Linked DNA regions of Homo sapiens: region 1 is linked to region 2. Evidence: promoter capture Hi-C in 16 types of primary human blood cells and fetal thymus (Javierre and others, 2016). All regions are on one chromosome and are shown on one strand. Each heading gives the region's core, a stretch centred on a gene start or on the middle of the fragment in contact. The rest is flanking DNA. Distances are from core to core; before and after follow the strand shown. Region 1 holds the start of ECHDC1 (ethylmalonyl-CoA decarboxylase 1). Region 2 holds the start of RPS12 (ribosomal protein S12).

Region 1 (3,315 bases), core at 816-3,315, 5.5 Mb after region 2:
TCTTTTGAGAAATGTCCATTCAGGCCTTTTGCTCATTTTTAAATTGGATTTTTTTTTTTTTTTTTTTGGCTATTGAGTTGACTTCTTCATATACTCTGGATATTAACCCTTTGTCAGATATATAGTTTGCAAATATTTTCTCCCATTCTGCAGGCTGTCTTTTCACTCCGTTGATTATACATATTATGTATTTACTTATCTTTCATTGTCCACCTACCCCACTATATAGAGTTTAACTTGGATATTTTCCCAAAGTGTTAAAAAGAAAGATGGAAAATGGGAGCCAGAAATAGAAAGCCCACTGAGTACTACAGTTATCACTGAGAAAGAAGAATGAAAGTTATTACTGAAAAATAAAACTGAAGAAACCTCTCAGATGGGCCTGGTGCCTGGGTCCATGGGGACAAAAGTGGAACATCAGTCTAGCAGTCTAGTCTGGTGCTGGGGAAGACCTAAAGCCTGATTCTTCAGAGGCCATCATGGAGGCTGGGTTTGTGGGTGGTAGCCTGTAGGCTAGGCCCTCTGGGGTAGTTCTGGTGCCAGGGTCTACTGGGGTAGACCTGGACCTTGGGTTTGTTGGAGCAGGCCTGGAACCTGGGTTCACTGGAACCTGGGGCTGTAGGGACCAGCAGTCAGTGGACCTAAAGCCTATATCCACTGGTGCCAACCTGGAGACTGGGGCTGTAGGGCCCAACCTGGTGTTGGAGCCTGGTGCCTGAAACTATGGGGACCAACATGGGGAATGGAGTGGGCATAGATCTAGGCGCCATGGAGATTAGCCTAGCATTGGGGTGATCTTGGAGTCTCAGTGAAATGGCTCAGTGATCTTGGAGTCTCATTTTATAACAAACTAGAATTAAATACAGTACTTCTAATAATGACTTCTTCCAATTAGTCCAAACTGGGCTCCCACTTATTCCCTATCATACACATCTCCGTATCGTAAAACTATCCTCCCTGTTCGGCGCGTTGGCACATTCTGTTCCTCCGACTAGAATATTCCCTGTACTTATTCAAATCATACCTATGACCACTGCAGAACTCCAGGAACATGACCATCCCATCTAAACCCCTGCGTTCAGAGACTTGACCAAACTCTAGCAAGCTTTAGCAGCATAAGGCCCTGTGCCCAGGGCGACTGCCTCAGAAAGCTTAACTACGTGATGTAACCAGCACACAACTGATGATAGGTCTCTGACATCCCTTTCTTAGAACGTTTACTAAAGGGCTTGCAATTGTAAAGACTTATTTCTTGCCACTCAGAAGTTCTCTCTCAAGGACCAGAGAGTCATTCCTTTGAAATGTAATCGAGAAGGATAAAATCCTCCGTAGGAGGATAGAATCCTGCGGTAACTGTTAAAACGCGCGCACACACAAACACACAGCTGGCCTAATCACATTTACACTAACAACTCTGTAGGTTCACTTTCTCTACTGAGCGCCCGCATATCCCCTTTCTCCTTTTAAAACGTCCCTTTAAAAATGCCCAGATGATCTCTGCACGAATCGAAATAGAGCTCAGCTCTTTCCTGTCAGTAGTTAACTGAATGTTTTCACCGCTTTAACGTCCAGCTGCGCTTATCTTTGACATCGACTACCTAAGGTCTACCTTTAGTCCCACGACTCTGACAAAATGATCTCAATATTGGTGTAAAATCACCTCCCCTTTCAAGGGTCTTCCAAAGCACTTCCTGTCTGCGGCATACAAAATGTATTGGCACGGAATTTTAAGCTTACTGAGCTTTATAAACACGTCACATTCACACATTCAAGACACACACTGGATATTCGGATAAAAACAAACAAACAAAAAACTGGCTAAATACCCATTCCCCTCAATAACTTGGATAAGATACCTAAAAAAGGTCGACCTTCGGTACCTTTCTGTCTTCTCCCCTCTCGCTATTTGCCTACACTGGCTTCCTCACCTCCACTTTTTCTCACGTTTATCTGAGCGAAAACAAGCACGGTTCGGCAGCCTCCTTTCCCAGCCCTACCTTTGTGCTGCAAAAGCGAAAATTCAAAAGCCAAGTACAATAGGAGACCGCCCACCCTGGCTCCCTCGTGACACGAGGGAGCGCGAAGCGGAGGGCGCCTCGCGGCAGGAGCGGGATTTCCGGGGTCACGGGAACCGGCAGGGGAACGGGATAAAGTTCCCGGAGAAAGGAAAGGAGAGCGTGGGATAGTAAAAGAGAAGACGCGGAGAAGAGGAGAGGACCTACAAGAACGGAGGACAGGGGCGCACGATGGTCCCGGGGGGAGCGGAAACAAAGGCACGCAAAACGGAAAAGCGTGTGTAGGGGAGCGGAAAAGGAAGTCACCACCGTGGCCTGCGACGGTAAGTGGTCGTAAGGGTTGGTCTTAGCGCTTCAGTTTAGTGTTGTCAGTGGGAGAATCCTAAAATGTCGCCGTGGAATGGACTGTACCGCTCGCTTCTCCAAACGTGTCCCAGACGGCGAGCCTCCCCGGCTCCGCGGCTTGTCCCTTGCAAGCGCCGCGCAGGCCTGCCCCGCGCTGGACGTGGAGACGCGGTGCCGAGCGCCACGGGCCGGCTGTGCGCCGGCCGGGGAAAGAGGGCGAGGGGAAGAGATGAATCGGTCTTCCCAGAGCGCGCCGCGAGGTCGCGAGATTACACTTTAAAAAGCATGAGGAGGCTTGCTTTCTACATGCTGATTTAATTTCGGAATACATTCGAGGCCCTGTGCTAAGTTAGGTAATGTTCCCTATAATTGTCTTTTATGTATAAGTTGTCTTGCCTAACTAAAACTTTTCTTACTTGTATCGTGCAGCCAACTTTTCAAGAACGAAAGATGAGCAACTCCTTTCTGGTAGAGGTTCTTTCATTGGAGAATTTTTGAGCTACAATAATCCTTTTAACGCTGCGCACACATACAGGGATTACACGTGTAGGGGATTAAAAACACAGTTAAGTTTAGGTTGAAGGTGCTGTTAAGGACTTCAGGCAACATTAAATCAACACTCAGTTCTTTGCTCTGTTCCACATCTGGGCTCCTGTATAGCAGTTGTTGCTCTAGGTGCTAGAGGTATGCAGAGGAACTGGACAAGGGCAAGGAAAACAAAGGGCTCCTTCTTTAGAAGAGCTAGCATTCTCTTGGAACAGACAAGCTTGTGGTGAGAAGTATATTTGTGAAATCTACGAGGGGAGGGAGCAGCGCAGTAATAGAACGGGCGATCCTTTCTTGATTTTTTATTGGGTTCTGGCCTGAAAGGCGACTGTATAATCAGCTGGGATTCCTGCAATGATTAACATTCCAGGAAGGGAAGCCAGCCTGTGAAGAAGCATGGCATTGAAAC
Region 2 (3,237 bases), core at 2-2,501:
ATTAATGGAACAGTTATGAAATGCCATGCAATAATGCCGAAATAGAAATACAGAAGACTCATACTAGGACCTACTAAATACATTAAACAATAATGCCGTTTCCATCGGATTGAACTGGCTAGATTACACCAAAACGAACTTGTCCTGTAAAACCTTAAAACTGCATTTAAATTCAGCTCAAGAGTAGGTTGATTTGTCAATGCCACCACCCTAAAAAACACATTAACTCGATCCATTCAAATACATTAACAAATATCCCAAATTCAAATAAATCACAGCTATTATACTACTAAATTCATCTAGGACCAAATGCTTCTGAAACCTGAGTTTGAAATTCCATTAAATTAATGCTTGTTTTGCAAACTACCAGATGTAATGTGGCTCTCCATCTCATCTATCTGCCAGATAAGTATAAGACTGACTAGCTCCACAACCTACAGGTTTGTCAGACTCTTATGTTTCACTCATAAAAGGAGTGAAGGGGTATCCGACAATTAAAGTCATCATTCAAACACTGTAGTTTTGAGTGCTTATCCCCATTCCAAACAGCAACCCACACATTTTAAGTGGGCTTTATAGATCTGAGTTCTGATACCTTTTCCTAGGTTTCCGGTAGGACGGATGCCATTCAGAACTTTTGCGCTAACACCATGAACTCCATGCCTTCTTCCCTTGGGTGGCAGTTTTGTTCCGGTTGCAAGAACCCACAGTATTGAGACTGATACACGTACTTGTCTAAGGCTTTGGCAGCTTCGCGAATTCCACGTGCTAGGCCATCGTGGATGAGGGCAGTCTTCAGAACCTCTTGTAAAGCAGTATTAACGTCCATTACACCTCCAGCAGCAATGCTTAAACGCGACACATCAGAACCATCAGTTAAAATCCTCACACCACATAAGGCCTTGCACTCAGCAAAAGCTAAGTGTACAACAGACGCGCTTACGGCGACCCGTTTGACCCAGTCCTGTTCCGCCAGCTCTAGCCCCACGCCTCAGCCGCACCCCGACCCCAACTCCAACCCCGGCCCCTGGGCTCACCCTTCCTCGGCCATGGCGGTGGGTTACGGGTGAAGTTGAATCTTGAACGCACTAAAAAACAAAAGCATTGACTTGTTAAAGAACCAGATACTCGTCACGAATCCCAGCAAGAACGCAACGAGCCACAAATTATAACCAATACACCCCCCTGCCGCCTCGCTCAACTTACCCCAAGCCTCCGCCTCCGCGCGACTCGGCGGCGGCAGGGAAAGAGGCCTCATCCGCACGCATGCCGGTATTTAAGGGTTTTTCAGGTCCCCTGTGCGCATGTGCACTCCCACCCTCGAAAGAGGTGGCTCCCGCAGTGCCGGGCCTGGGGAGTTTCTGTTTCCGGATTGAGGCGGTTCTGAGGCAAACGTACTGCGAGTTTTCTATCTCTGCCAGGCCGGTCCTTGGCGAGTGCAACAGGCACTACGCGGGCAGCTTCGCGTTGTCCTTCTTTGCGGAGGCGTGGCCCACCGAGGCCCAGGGAACTCATTCTACGGAGCGCGACAGAAGCCAAACAAGTGTGTCCGCGTGTTCTTTAAGGCACCTAGAGCCCTGTATCCCGCCGAGCGCCAGTTTTAACCCTTTCCACACCACGTTCTACTTTCCTGTTGCTTCTACAAGACCCAGCCTCCCCAGGCAGCGCACTTTGTTCCTTCGCTTCTAAGTCACCCTGAGAGACCATGTTTGTGTCGTTGTGGGTGTGATCCTCATCTTTGTCTTCATGAAACGAGAGCCTACATGCTTTCACTCTTCCAGGCTGGAGTGCAATGGCGCGATCTCAGCTTACTGCGACCTCCGGCTCCCGGTTTCAAGCGATTCTCCTGCCTCAGCCTCCCGAGTAGCCGGGATTGCAGGCGCCTGCCACCACCCTGGCTAATTTTTTGTATTTTTAGTAAAGACGGGATTTCACCATGTTGGCCAGGCTGGTCTCGAACTCCTGACCTCAGGGGATCCACCCGCCTCGGCCTCCCAAAATGCTGGGATTAGAGGCGTGACCCGCCGCCCCCGGCCGCTTTCACTATTTCTAAGCCCTTTCCCTGCGGTGTGTTGGTAAAGCGGAACCCTGCAGCCAGGGGTCAATTCTAGTTTCTAAGTATAGCGGGAGTCGCTTCTGAACGAAGTTTGTTCTGCTTTGTTTGGTTTTTAACGACGCGTTGTGCTCGGAATACACAGTTCCGCGCAACTCAGAATTCCTCAGGTGCATTTTCAACACCTACAATGTGCCTGACGCAGGGCCAGGTCCTGGGACTACAGACATGAAATATCCAGTCTTTGAGGAGTCCATTTTCTTCCAGGAAGCAATATTTTAAATTTGGAAGTGATTGGCCATTCCCCAATCCCCACTTCCAAACCAAACGCACGAAACACTACTGAATATGATCAATACTGCCTTTGTGTTTAATTTCCTCTCCTGGGTAGTCAGCCGCCAAACCAGTGAGCAATTATTAGGCGCTTGGCACGTGCCAGCGCTGTGAATCCAGTGGGCAGATACTGTTAGACTGGTGAGTGCAGCGAAAAAAACAAAAATGGGTAACGCAGTAAGAGCACCAGGGAGTTCACCAGAACAGAGACCTGCTGTAATGTTAATAAACTGATAGAGTTCAGTTTACTGATAGAGTTCAGTTTTAGATTTTCCGCTGGTTTCAGTTTCATTTTTAAAGCGTTGAAGCTGCTTCTCTGTCAGTAACTCATGCAAATGTTTATTGAGCTTTTGATTTAAAAAAAAAAAAAAAACGAGGAATTTATAAAGATGATTCATTCCTGTAGCCCTGGTTTGTTTGTGGTGGGATTAAGATTTTAGACAAAAATCAGAATACCTCAGGGCCACAGAGGAGATACAAAGTGGCAGGGGGTTAGGGAGTGGGGATGGTGTGAAAAGGTAAGAGGACCTCAGGCTTCTGGCAGCATTCGAAACAGGCTCAAAACAAAAACTAAGAGATTCCAAATCGGTGAGCATGGAAGGAGAGGAGGGTATTCTAAATGGATGAAAGTGTAGGGGCAAAGGCATGAAATCCTTCTTGCCTTTTTTGGAGGTTATAATTAACACGTTTGTATTTTTGAAAGAGAATGTGGCAAATAGTCTTTCAGCGCATTTCTCATTATCTAAAGACAGTACAGTTGATATGCTAAGCATATTAGATTCCTTCCCCAAACAAATTTTTAAGGAAGAAGCAGGGAATTTGGGAAACCTAAGTGAAAACATTCACTGCCA

What was found. Contacts are between HindIII fragments. The CHiCAGO score rates a contact against its expected background, and 5 or more counts as called.
Region 1: a contact is called between the fragment with the promoter of ECHDC1 here and the fragment with the promoter of RPS12 in region 2, in 1 of 17 cell types (total CD4 T cells). The highest score is 5.8, in total CD4 T cells.

Annotation. Positions count from the first base shown.
Region 1 is chr6:127,342,359-127,345,673 of GRCh38, reverse strand. It overlaps ECHDC1 (ethylmalonyl-CoA decarboxylase 1), which reads left to right and starts at 2,065. Exons shown (of 6, transcript NM_001002030.2): 1 at 2,065-2,338. RefSeq lists enhancers at 159-1,032, 1,907-2,780. The HindIII fragment of the contact is 1,394 bases long and covers 1,735-3,128 here.
Region 2 is chr6:132,812,583-132,815,819 of GRCh38, reverse strand. It overlaps RPS12 (ribosomal protein S12), which reads right to left and starts at 1,251. Exons shown (of 6, transcript NM_001016.4): 1 at 1,207-1,251; 2 at 1,038-1,088; 3 at 732-848. The coding sequence starts at 1,051. SNORD101 (small nucleolar RNA, C/D box 101) reads right to left here and starts at 513; the gene lies at 441-513. It overlaps LOC107986644 (a long non-coding RNA gene), which reads left to right and starts at 1,532. Exons shown (of 3, transcript XR_001744345.3): 1 at 1,532-2,527. RefSeq lists enhancers at 786-915, 1,346-1,625, 1,540-2,286, 2,716-2,785. The HindIII fragment of the contact is 13,401 bases long and covers 1-3,237 here.